Regions from separate parts of the Homo sapiens genome. Here region 2 is linked to region 1. Evidence: promoter capture Hi-C in human tissues and cell types (Jung and others, 2019). All regions are on one chromosome and are shown on one strand. The core of a region is centred on a gene start or on the middle of the fragment in contact, and the rest is flanking DNA. Distances in the headings are between cores, read along the strand shown. Region 1 holds the start of SLC51B (SLC51 subunit beta). Region 2 has its middle 33 kb from the start of SNORA24B.

The links. The method cuts DNA at HindIII sites, captures the fragments that hold promoters and counts their contacts. A contact is called where the count stands out against the background at its distance.
Region 2: a fragment that was not itself captured here is called in contact with the fragment with the promoter of SLC51B in region 1 in 1 of the 25 tissues and cell types used here (spleen).

Annotation. Positions count from the first base shown.
Region 1 is chr15:65,042,058-65,048,401 of GRCh38, forward strand. SLC51B (SLC51 subunit beta) reads left to right here and starts at 3,330. Exons shown (of 4, transcript NM_178859.4): 1 at 3,330-3,525. It also overlaps a transcript of RASL12 not described here. The HindIII fragment of the contact is 9,148 bases long and covers 7-6,344 here.
Region 2 is chr15:65,249,275-65,255,618 of GRCh38, forward strand. It overlaps a transcript of PARP16 not described here. Among named protein-coding and RNA genes, the nearest start is that of SNORA24B, 33 kb to the right of the region's middle. RefSeq lists an enhancer at 4,186-4,686. The HindIII fragment of the contact is 7,861 bases long and covers 1-6,344 here.

The DNA of each region.
Region 1 (6,344 bases), core at 2,080-4,579:
ATAACTGGCTACTTCTGACATTCTTCTATGAGAAAATAAACTCTTATGGTTTAAACCACTGACATTGGGTCTTTGTTACCCAGAGCCAAACACAATTCTCAACTGATATGGAAGGCCTCCCTAAGAAGATGACATTTAAGCTGAGGCTTGAAGGGTTAGCAGGTGGCAGATACCAGAATAGCAGAGGAAAACCAAAAGCCCTTTCCACTCCACTACACTGCTGACTGTCTATCATCCTCTAGGTAGGGAGATAAGAGACTGGAGAAGTCAGGAGAGGAGATTTCAAGGTGGGATTGATTGGCCAGGAATGATAGTGATGCTGTGAGGAAAGGAGGGCTTGGTGATGTGCTCTCATCTCCATGTGTACGTTTCCTTCATGGCACTTGTCACACAGAAGTTGTGATGACATGATGAACACCCGTCTGTCTGTTCTGCTAGACTGGAGTCTCCATGAGGGCAGGGACAATCCTTTCGACTGTTTATCACTGGCATAATGCCTGGCACATGGCAACCATGGAACAAGTTATTGGATAGGCCGTAGTAGAAAGAGCTAGGGTAAGAGGAGGGAGAGAAAAGACACAGAAGCAGAAGAGTGGAAAACCTGGGATTGTGCAGGCTCCTTGTTAAGGGGACACCATCCCATTAGAGCACCACAACACTCCTCAGAGGCAGACAAGGGGGATTGAGGTCAAATGGTTCCTTCAGGCACCCACATGGCATGGGCTGTCCAGCTCACAGCCTGTCTCTCCTGGCTACCCAACAGGCATGATGAGCTCTGAGTTGGCTATCAGTGGTACCCCCCTCCCTAGCCATAACAATTGATCCAAGACATAGGTACATGACTCAGGCTGGACAATTAGAGTCCTTTCCAAGAATTTTTAAACAAGAGCTAAGAAAAGTAGCTACTTCCTCTGCAGCTATGAGAGCATGAGCCTGGGTTTCCTATCATCTGGTCAAGCTTCCCGGAGGTGGCCAGCCTGGGGTAATGAGCCTGGCACCCAGAGAAAAGCAGGGAAAGAGCCACAGAAACAAAGCACTACGGGTCGTCAAATCCCTGGTTCCCGTATGCCTCAGGTCAGCTCCACCCTGCCCTTCCTAGTTTATGAGCCAATAAATTCCTTTTGTGTTTAAGAGAGTTAGTGTTGAGCTTCTCTCTTGAAATCTATCAACTACCTTTCTCTCCAAAATGCACCCTGAATCTGACCACTTCTCATCATCTCCACTGCCACCAGCCTGGTCCAAACTACTAATATGTTTTGCCTGGATGAATATAACAGCCTCCCAATGGTCTCCCTGTTCCTCTCTTGCTCTCCTACAATCCATTTTCCACCCAGCAGGCCAAGTGATCTTAGACAAATGTCAATTAGATTATGTCACTTTCCTGCCTAAACCCTCCAGTGGCTTCTCATCACTTTTAGGGTAAAATACAAACTCCTTACCCTGTTTTACAAGGCCCACCATGAGGAGTGGATACTCCTGTCTGTCCTCTGACTTTATTCCATGCCACTTCCCCCTCATCACTATGATTCAGCTATATTGGCCACCTTTTTGTTCCAGACACATTAAGCTCATTATTTCTTCAGTGTCTTTGTACCTGCTTGCTTTCTTTTCTTTTCTTTTTTTTTCTGAGATGAAGTCTTGCTCTGTTGCCCAGGCTGGAGTGCAGTGGTGCGATCTCAGCTCACTGCAACCTCCGCCTCCCGGGTTCAAGCAGTTCTCCTGTCTCAGCCTCCTGAGTAGCTGGGACTACAGGCGCCTGCCACCACACCTGGCTAATTTTTTTATTTTTAGTAGAGACGGAGTTTCACCTTGTTGGTCAGGCTGGTCTCGAACTCCTGACCTCAGGTGATACACCTGCCTTGGCCTCCCAAAGTGCTGGGATTACAGGCATGAGCCACCACGCCTGGCCTTTGTACCTGCTTTTTCAGGTCTTTGCATGGTTAACCCCTCATCATTCAGTTTTTAGTGTAGTAATATAGTAATCATGTCTCCCCCACCTCATCCCTTTCTATCTTATTATGTTGTTTAAGATATTCACAGAAATGATCACTGCTATAATTATCTTTTAATTATGCTTTTGCTTACTTTTTTGTTGGCTATCTCCCCTGGAGTTTGAGCTCCAATGGAGCAGGGCCCTCACCTGTCTTATTTACCATGTATCTACACAGTAGATGCTCAAGTAACATTTATTCAATGAATAAATGAATGCATTACAAAATGAGGAGGAGCTGGAGTTCCAGGCAGCCCCTAGATTCCCTGTTGGGTCTTCTTTCCTCTGCCCCATGCACACACAGTACACACTGTTGACTAATGTTTAACTCATAGAGGAGTTTGGGCTTGACATGTGACCTCACTCAGCCTCTGTTTCATTTGTGAAGTAAGAAATAAGAGTGGGCGGCTGGGCGTGGTGGCTCATGCCTGTAATCCCAGCACTTTGGGAGTCTGAGGTGGGCAGATCACGAGGTCAGGAGATCAAGACTATCCTGGCTAACACGGTGAAACACCATCTCTACTAAAAATAGAAAAAATTAGCCGGGCATGATGGCACATACTTGTAGTCCCAGCTACTCAGGAGGCTGAGGCAGGAGAATTGCTTGAACCGGGGAGGTGGAGGTTGCAGTGAGCCAAGATTGTGCCACTGCTCTCCAGCCTGGGTGACACAGCGAGACTCCATCTCAAAAAAAAAAAAAAAAAAAAAAAAGGAGTGGGCTTATTTCACATAAGCCCACTCCTTGCTAAACCAACAATGATTGCCTAAGATGCACGGAGCCAGTTGGTGGAAAAGTCCATAGACTATCAGAGTTGAATGGTGCTGGTCAGGTGGGAGGAGCACCTCATTCCTGCTTCCCCATCAAGTTACTTGCCTTGGCCTGCTTCCTACTCTCTGGGTCACTGGTGCTCACACAGCCTTTCCCAACCCCCACCTCCAAAGGTCATATTTTACAGCTCCTTGTGAGGAATTCACATCATGCCATGACCTTCACTATGAGAAAGCACAGGCTGTAAAAGGCCAGCCTGGCTCCCTGCTCCGTGGTTAAATATTGATGATATTGGGCAATAGAGACCTGGAGTGGGCACACTACATATCCCCCTGCAGTGATGGAACCCACAGACCGCAGGTCCTCTGCAGTCCATTCTCCTGCCTGTCCAGAGGATCCGGATGTTTTCTCTTTACTTGAGGCCAACACATAACAATGAAAGCACTGGGCTACTGGTGCTTTCGGATTGTGAAAGTCAGGTGGAGCCTGTTTGCACTCTGAGTGCACTCATTCAAGAGGTCAGTCACCCTGGAGTGATACAGAAGGCTCCAGGCCTGGGCGTGTGCTAAGGCCAGAGCTACCAGATGGGTCCAGCTGCCGCAGGCTCTCCAGGCACTGTCCCCTAAGTGACAGCTGTTACTGCCTGGGAGAGCTCAAGTGCAAAGACTATCCTGTTCTCCCATAAAGAGGAGGAAAAGGAAGATACAGAAATCGGTGCTGCTCCCAACAGCAGATCAAGGCAGTCGTCAGGAACTCAGGATCCGGGGTGAGTGTCCTCATCTTGCCTTGGGGATGGGTGGCCCAGGTCTTTGGCAGAAGTCACAGTCCAATGGCACGATGGTTAAGCCCTGTTTAAAATGCAGAGATCTCCCAGAGGGGCTTAAGGAGACAAGACAACTAAATGCAGTATGACATCCTAAATGGGATCCTGGAACAAGAAAAGAACATTAAAGGCAAAACTAACAAAATGCAAATAAGGCATAAAGTTTAATTTAATCATGCAAATGACAATATGATGCTCACTTTAGAAGCAAACTGGATACGTGCTTTGATAGAAATATGTCTTTGGCCGGGCGCAGTGGCTCACGCCTGTAATTCCAGCACTTTTGGAGGCCGAGGCAGGCCGATCACCTGAGGTCAGGAGTTCGAGACCACCCCGGCTAACGTGGTGAAACCCCATCTCTACTAAAAATACAAAATTGGCCGGGTGCGGTGGCTCATGCCTGTAATCCCAGCACTTTGGGAGGCCGAGGCAGATGGATCACCTCAGGTCAGGAGTTCCGAGACCAGCCTGGCCAATGTGGTGAAATGCTGTCTCTACTAATAATACAAAAATTAGCTGGATGTGGTGGCGGGCACCTATAATCCCAGCTACTCAGGAAGCTGAGGCAGGAGGATCACTTGAACTCGGGAGGCGGAGGTTGCAGTGAGCTGAGATGGTGCCACTACACTCCAGCCTGGGCAACAAGAGTGAAACTCTGTCTCTAAATAAATAAATACAAAATTAGCTGGGCATGGTGGTGGATGCCTATAATCACAGCTACTTGGGAGGCTGAGGCAGGAGAATCACTTGAACCTGGGAGGTGGAGGTTGCAGTGAGCTGAGATCATGCCATTGCACTCCAGCCTGGGCAAAAAGAGTGAAACTCTGTCTCAAAAAAAAGAAAGAAATATGTCGCTTGTTTCTGTGGCATCTAACATAGCTGAGGAGGGCTGACTCTCGGTTCTGGATTTGTATCCAATTTGTCATTTTGGTTTTTTGTTGGTTGGTATGTGTTTACTGTAACAATATTAAACATATTTTAAACATATTTTGGCCAGGCGCGGTGGCTCATGCCTGTAATCCCAGCATTTTGGGAGGACAAGGTGGGCAGGTCGCTTGAACTCAGAAGTTCAAGGCTGGCCTGGGCAAGATGATGAAACCCCATCGCTACAAAAAATACAAAAATTAGCCGGGCGTGGTGGCACATGCCTGTTGTACCAGCTGCTCAGGAGGCTGAGGTGAGAGGATCGCCTGTGCCCGGGAGATGGAGGTTGCAGTGAGCCAAGATGGTGCCATTGCACTCCAGCCTGGGTGACAGAGCCAGACTCTGTCTCAAAAAACAAAAAACAAAAAAACACCACTCCACTGTGGACAATAGCTTACCTGCGTCTTTGTACACTGATCTGATTAGTTCCATTAATTAAATATCAAAAATTGGAATTGTTGTCTCAAAAGGTATAAGTACAATAATACCTACATTTAAAAATGCATACAAAGGCTGGGTGCAGTGGCTCACACCTGTAATCCCAGCACTTTGGGAGGCTGAGGTAGGCGGATCACCAACCTGGCAAACATGGTGAAATCCCATCTCTACTAAAAATACAAAAATTAGCCAGGTGTGGTGGCACATGCCTGTAGTCCCAGCTACTCAGGAGGCTGAGGCAAGAGAATTTCTTGAACCTGGGAGGCGGTGGTTGCAGTGAGCCGAGATCACACCATTGCACTCCAGCCTGGGCAGCAAAAACAAAACTCCATCTCAAAAAAAAAAAAACATACATACAAATAGACAAAATATACATAGAAATATATACACACATTAAAAATGGAATTACATGTATTGTTCTCATGAAAGCAGTGTATACGCATAAGAAACCACACAATACAGGAGTGGTCAACATGAATATCCCATGTGTCTAAATCTCATCCCACACCCTAGAAGAAGACTGTGTTTGGTTTCTCAACTTCAATACTTTTCTTTGTGAGTTCAGGGGTTTGCATATGGCACAGGGGCCTGTGGCTGATGTTACTAATCAATCCAGGCACTCTTACATCTGAGACTGGATGGAATGTCACAATCCTTCTTGGACAGTGCTCTGGACAGTCAGTTGGAGCTAGAACACAAGATCACATCTGTTGGCCATTCTTGTAACTTTGTCTTTCCATGATTTTAGATGGGTAGGTAGGCAGATAGATAGATAGACAGATAGATCGATAGATGATAGATAGATAGATAGATAGATAGATAGATAGATAGATAGAATCTCCCTCAAATGAGTAAGTAGGCAGTGTGCATGTGAGTCCTTGAAAGTCTAAGAAAGGGCCAGGCACGGTGGCTCAGGCCTGTATTCCTAGCATTTTGGGAGGCCGAGGCGAGTGGATTACCTGATGTCACGAGTTCAAGACCAGCCTGGGAAACATGAGGAAACCCCATCATTACTAAAAATACAAAAATTAGCCTGGCGTGGTGGCATGCCCTGTAGTCCCACTACTTGGGAGGCAGAGGCACAAACGAGAACCGCTTGGACCCAGGAGGCATAGGTTGCAGTGAGCTGAGATCACGTCACTGCACTCCAGCCTGGGCGACAGAGCAAGACTCCGTCTCAAAAGAAAAAAAAAGAAAAAAAAAAAAGTCTAAGAAAGGTCTTTTTTTCTCCCTGACTTCCATCTCCACCTTGGCATATGAATGATCATTCACATATGAAAAGCTTAAGTCAGTATTGTATTTGTGTCAAAATATTTTCCCTTGCAATTTGTAGATATGCCTTTTTAGTTTTCTCAGAGCATTTAGTGCTAGAGGAAACTCTGATGTAAAGCTAGTCCTTT
Region 2 (6,344 bases), core at 1,775-4,274, 210 kb after region 1:
ATCTAGCTGGAATGGTGTGGGAATCTAATTCCCCAGGCAGCCCCTGGGCGGGGGTGAAGGGGCTCCCACCCCAGGGACAGTGGCCCAGTGGGGGCCTCCTCTTAAGTGACAGTCATATTACAAACACAGGACTTGTGCCTGGAGTGGCTTGAGGCTGAGGTGCCCAGTGCTGGGGCAAAATGGGGACTCAGGAGAAATGTCTCGTTCAACCTGGAGACAGACAGCTACCTTCCTTCTCCCTTGTACCCACTCACCAGATCCTCCAGGCCTCTGCTGGAGGTGGACGAAGGGCTGCAGCCCCACCCAGCCAGGCAGGACTGGAGACAGGAATGCTGCTGAGCCCAGCTGGCCAGAAAGGGGTGACTGTTTGTTCTCTGATGTGAGGAACATCTCAGGCAATCAGGGGGATTTGGCTGCCAGCAGCCCCTGGATGCAAGGTCTCAAAAATTTCAACTTAATCAGAGCAGGCTGATAGCTTGAGCAGGCAGTGGGGGTGGAAGGGAGGGGCCATCCCCTTCCTGCCCCACATTCAGTGCCATGTGTGCCTCTGGGCTCACCTCCTGGGTCTGCAATGATGGGGCTGGGAAGGTTACAGGAGATGAGCTCAGAGCTCTGATTGAGTGGGTGTTGGGGGACTTCCCATGGTTTCCACTTCTGACATTGCAGGTGCCTTCTGCTCATAAAACAGAGCAGAGCTCACAACCCCAGTCTGGAAAGGGAACTCGTTTTCTATTCACTGGGCCTGGTGTCGGCACTCTTGTCTTCCTATGCCACCAGCCTAGGTCTTCTTTGCTCAGACAGCCCCTCTAGCTGCAGCCTTGCACCTGCTTGCCTTTTTTTTTTTTTTTTTTTTTTTTTTTTGAGACAGAGTCTCTCTCTGTTATCCAGGCTGGAGTGCAATGGTGCGACCTCAGCTCACTGCAACCCCCGCCTCCCAGGTTCAAGCGATTCTCCTGTCTCAGCCTGCCCAGTAGCTGGGATTACAGGCGCGCGCCACCATGCCCAGCTGATTTTTGTGTTTTTAGTACAGACGGGGTTTCACCATGTTGGCCAGGCTGGTCTCGAACTCCTGACCTCAAGTGATCTGCCCACCTCAGCCTCCCAAAGTGCTGGGATTACAGGCGTGAGCCACTGTGCCTGGCCATGCCTGCCTTTCTTATTCCTTTAGAGTCAGCCCTGGTTCTGCCTCTTTCTGGCCTTTTAACCTTGCACAAGTCATCTCCAAACCTGTTTCTTCTGTAAAATAAACAGAATAGTATCTGCCTTGCAGGGATACTGTGAAGATTAAATGAGATAATTCTTTTAATATGCACATCATGCAGGAGGCACTTGATACACGGTAGCATCCTTTTCCTTCCTCCCTTCTCCTACTGCTGCAGACTGCATCTCTGGTCTTCCTGAGGGCCAGGCTCCTCCAGTGTAGTTTACAGCCACAGCCCTGGTCAGACCTACCCATTGCTGCTTCCGGACTTTGATGGGCCCTGAGGTTTCTGAGGCCAGAAGCCAGTCCAAGCTGACCGAAGGAGGCCCCTTGAGACTGAGGCTGCAGAAGGCCCCAAAACACAGTGGCGCGCGTGTGTGTGTTTTTCCCATCTCTTATTTATTTATTTAGAGACGGAGTCTCACTCTGCTGCCCAGGCTGGAGTGCAGTGGTGCGATCTTGGCTCACTCAACCTCCGCCTCGCTACAACCTTTGCCTCCCAGGTCCAAGCGATTCTCGTGCCTCAGCCTCCCGAGTAGCTGGGATTACAGGCGTGCACCACCATGCCCAGTTAATTTTTGTATTTTTAGTAGAGACGGGGTTTCACCATGTTGGCCAGGCTGGTCTCAAACTCCTGACTTCAAGTGATCTGCAGGCTTCAGCCTCCCAAAGTGCTGGGATTACAGGCATGAGTCACCATGCCCCTGCCTCCCATCTCTTATTTTGCACAGGTTTGAGTGCCTTGTGGGGATAGTCCAAGGGTCAGGACAGTCAAACTTCATCAATCCAGACTCACTAGTTTGGAATTCACACCTTTCTATAGTTAACAAAGGATTTACATTAAAAATAATGATGCTCCAGGATGGCAAAGGCTATCAGTTAAGATCTACCCACGTTTATTCCCCGTTAAGACCCAACTTACTCTGTTAAATAAAAAGGAATGTATTTATTGGTCACCTAAGTGAAAAGTCTGGCTTCAAGCACAACTGGATTCAGTACTCAAAACAACGTCATCAGGACAGCAGCTCTGCTTTCCACTGTGTTGGCATCAGTCTGAGACTTTGCATGGCAGCCAGATGGCAGCCTCTCACATTCAGGACCACTGAAAATGCAAGTCTCTTTCCCAGGATCCCCAGCAAAACTTATGGTTCATTTTGATGAGATACTATTATCTCATCAAAAGATATGAGATACTATTATTATATCAAAATGAGATACTATTATCTCAAAACTCGTGGCTCATTTTGATGAGATACTAGTTGGGTCACATGCCTAGGTTTTTTTTTTGTTCGTTTGTTTGCTTTTTTGAGATGGAATCTCGCTCTGTCGCCCAGGCTGGAGTGCAGTGGCATGATCTCAGCTCACTGCAAGCTCCACCTCCCGGATTCATGCCATTCTCCTGCCTCAGCCTCCCGAGTAGCTGGGACTACAGGCGCCCACCACCCCGCCCGGCTAATTTTTTGTATTTTTAGTAGAGACGGGGTTTCACCGTGTTAGCCAGGATGGTCTCGATCTCCTGACCTCGTGATCCACCCGCCTCGGCCTCCCAAAGTGCTGGGATTACAGGTGTAAGCCACTGCACCCGGCCCACATGCCTAGGTTTGAAGCAATCACTGAGGCTGGGAGAAGGCAACTCACTAATTGGCTTGGGCCTGAGTCAATGCTCTACTTGTAGAGTGTGTGAGTGGAGGGGGCAGTCAGTCAGCTTCCCAAGACCAATGAGAGTGGGAAAGGGAGTTGGTTCCCCAGAGAGGAAGTTGAGGTATGGTACCAGGAAGGTGAATGAACCCTGGGTGACAAGAACAACAGATGGACTTATCCAAAGGAAATCGATGGCCAAAGAACTAAGAGGACAAATACTTTTCTAGCCCTTTAAAAATATAATTGATGTGCTAGTTTTAAATCCCTACAGACCTCTGATAGGCAATATATTATGGGCTCATTTGGGATAGCCTGCACTTGCTCAAGAATAAAACTGCATCTTTAAAGCAGCCTGCGATCCATGCTTCCAATAAATTGAGACTGGCCTTTCTGACCCACCAGTGGACAGTTTGACTAAACTAACCAATGTCACCAGCAATGGCTAGAAAGCCTGGCAGCACCACATGCTGTTTTCACTGGGGTCCTCCTTTGGCCAAATGGGGTTAGAGCAAAGTTTGATTCCAGCGGCCCCACCCCTTGACATGGTCAAAGCTCCTCCTGCCCTTGAATCCCTAGTGATTTCTCTTTCGCCACCCTCTCCTAACTCATTACTAAAACCTGCTCTTAGGGAGGCTTTGTTATCAGTCATTTGCACATGTGTATGAATAAGCTTCAAGTCAACAGTTTAGCCTCTCTCAGGATCATCTGCACTTTAAATAAAATGCAAGGCGGCTGGGCGTGGTGGCTCACACCTGTAATCCCAGCACTTTGGGAGGTCAAGGTGGGCAGATCACCTGAGGTCAGGAGTTTGAGACCAGCCTGGCCAACATGGTGAAACCTGTCTCTACTACTAATACAAAAATATTAGCTGGACATGGTGGCACATGCCTGTAATCCCAGCTACTTGGGAGGCTGAGGTAGGAGAATCACTTGAACCTGGGAGGTGGATGTAGTAGCGGTGAGCCGAGATTGCACCACTGCACCTCAGCCTGGGAGACAAGAGTGAAACTCCGTCTCAAAAAAAAAAAAAACAAAACAAACAAAAAAAACAATGCAAGACACTGTCCTTTCCACCCCACTAACCTCAAAAGGTATTTCTGGTGACATCGCAAATGGGACTCCCTGAATTCAAGCAACAAATGTCCACAACCTTCTTTGAAACCCCCACTCATCCACAATGTCTTGTCAATGCATTTTTTTTCTCGTCTAATTTCATTCTCTTTTTTTTTTTTGAGACGGAGTCTCGCTCTGTCGCCCAGGCTGGAGTGCAGTGGCGGGATCTCGGCTCACTGCAAGCTCCGCCTCCCGGGTTCACGCCATTCTCCTGCCTCAGCCTCCCAAGTAGCTGGGACTACAGGCGCCCGCCACTACGCCCGGCTAATTTTTTGTATTTTTAGTAGAGACGGGGTTTCACTGTTTTAGCCGGGATGGTCTCGATCTCCTGACCTCGTGATCCGCCCGCCTCGGCCTCCCAAAGTGCTGGGATTACAGGCGTGAGCCACCGCGCCCGGCCTTCATTCTCTTTTTGCTAACATTCAATCATTACCCTCTACTGTGATAGGGAAGTTTCTTGTATCTTTGCACCCCTTTATTCACTCAATAAACTCTTCTCCAGCACCTACCATATCTTAGATACTTGGATATACAAAGACTGCCTAGTCCCTGTCCTCAAGGAGCTTGCAGTTGAATTTTAATGCAGGAAACCAGATTTGTTTTTTTTGAGATGGGGTCTCTCTCTGTCACCAGGCTGGAGTGCAGTGGCACGATCTCAGCTTACTGCAACCTCTGCCTCCCAGGTTCAACCGATTCTCCTGCCTCAGCCTCCTGAGTAGCTGGGACTACAGGCGCACACCACCACACCCGGCTAATTTTTGTATTTTTAGTAGAGAAGGGGTTTCACCATGTTGGCCAGGATGGTCTTGATCTCCTGACGTCAGGTGATCTGCCCGCCTCAGCCTTCCAAAAGTGCTGAGATTATAGCCGTGAACCACCGCGCCTGGCCTAATTTCCAGATTTTTAACACAAGCAAAGTCTAGCCCCGTGGCTGATATAAAGTATTCAATAAATGCTGCTTTCCCTTTTCAGGGCTGCAGTATATGGACACTACAGCAGAACGCTGGAAATTTTTGAAAAACCCTTTCCAGGTGGACAAGGGCACCAGCCAGAGTGGGTGGAGACGGTGGTTTCTATCTTTACTTGGGAATGTCATGATTTGTTTTGGATGCTCCAAATGTCAGGTTGGAGACGCATGCAAAGGAGAGGGGCTTATTCTAACCAGATCAGGCTAGAGGCAGCCCAGGACACTGTCTCCATGGTGCACAGCCCCAGACAGTTTGGAAACAAACAGAAACCCATCCAGAGGCAGGAGACTGACAAAGGCAAACACAAACAAAGGCCAAGAGATGGAAAACTCATGAGGTGGGGCACAGTAGAGAGGAGGGGAGCGGGGAGAGAGACAAGTGGGGGCTGTGGAGGGGGTTTAGAGAGGGGTGTGGTCCTGTTTTTGTGTGAGCTAAATCCAGCCCCAGGGCCTAAGAATCACCATGGCAACGGGATGAATGCTGCTGACTCCATGCCAACACAAGCCTCCTGGGCTTAGCAGAAATGGGCTCAGATGCGATGGGGCCATGTTCTCAAGAAAAATGTCTGAATTGGGCTGTTTAAATCACAAACTCTCCACCCCTCTCCTGGTTTTGTAGGCAATCAGTGTTTAATGAAATGAATTAAACAGAAATGACACAGAACAACTTCCCCTATTCTACCTCTCTCTCATACACTCGTGCACTTACTCCCATAGAGTAAAACTCTTTCCCTTTCTGGTAGAAACTGACAGCTCATGGGATGCTGTGCATTTTCAGAAGCAAGGACCTCACCTGTGAGAGGTCCCCCCTTACAATGGCATTAGTGACAGAGGACAGATGGGGTTGCTTTTCACAAGACCTTAGGCAGCTGGGGGCCCCTATGAGGTGGCTCCAACTAAACCACTTTCACTTTTCCCAGAGCTGCTTGGCCTATGGGATCTCCCTGAGATTTTGGGTCAGTGCTAAATAGAATGTTAAGTCTCGTGTAGGGCTTGTCTCCTTCCTGCCTCTCCATTCCCAGGTACCCAGAGGCCTCACACTATCCCCTAGTACACTAGTCCTGTGCTAACTCATCCATTAGACATAGTAGGCACCGTGCCTAAGGCCCACATTGCAAAAATGTTTTCTTTTAAAATTAGAAGAAAAAAACTTTTAAGAAAAATTAGAAGAAAAAATGGTTTAGTACATAAATATATTCATTTTTATATCAATGCAGTAATAAAATATAATTTTAAATACTTTTATGGAAGAAAGGGGGCCCAGAAAGGCAAAAGTGCCCAGGGCCCATGGAAGTCATAACGTGGCCCTGCCCTAGTCTTCCCTCCTGCCCACTCGAACCCTCTAGACTCCAGAGTTTTCCTTCCCCCATATCAAAACGTACCTGCTATCTCATGTCCCTCCACTAACCCTGGAGCTCCTGG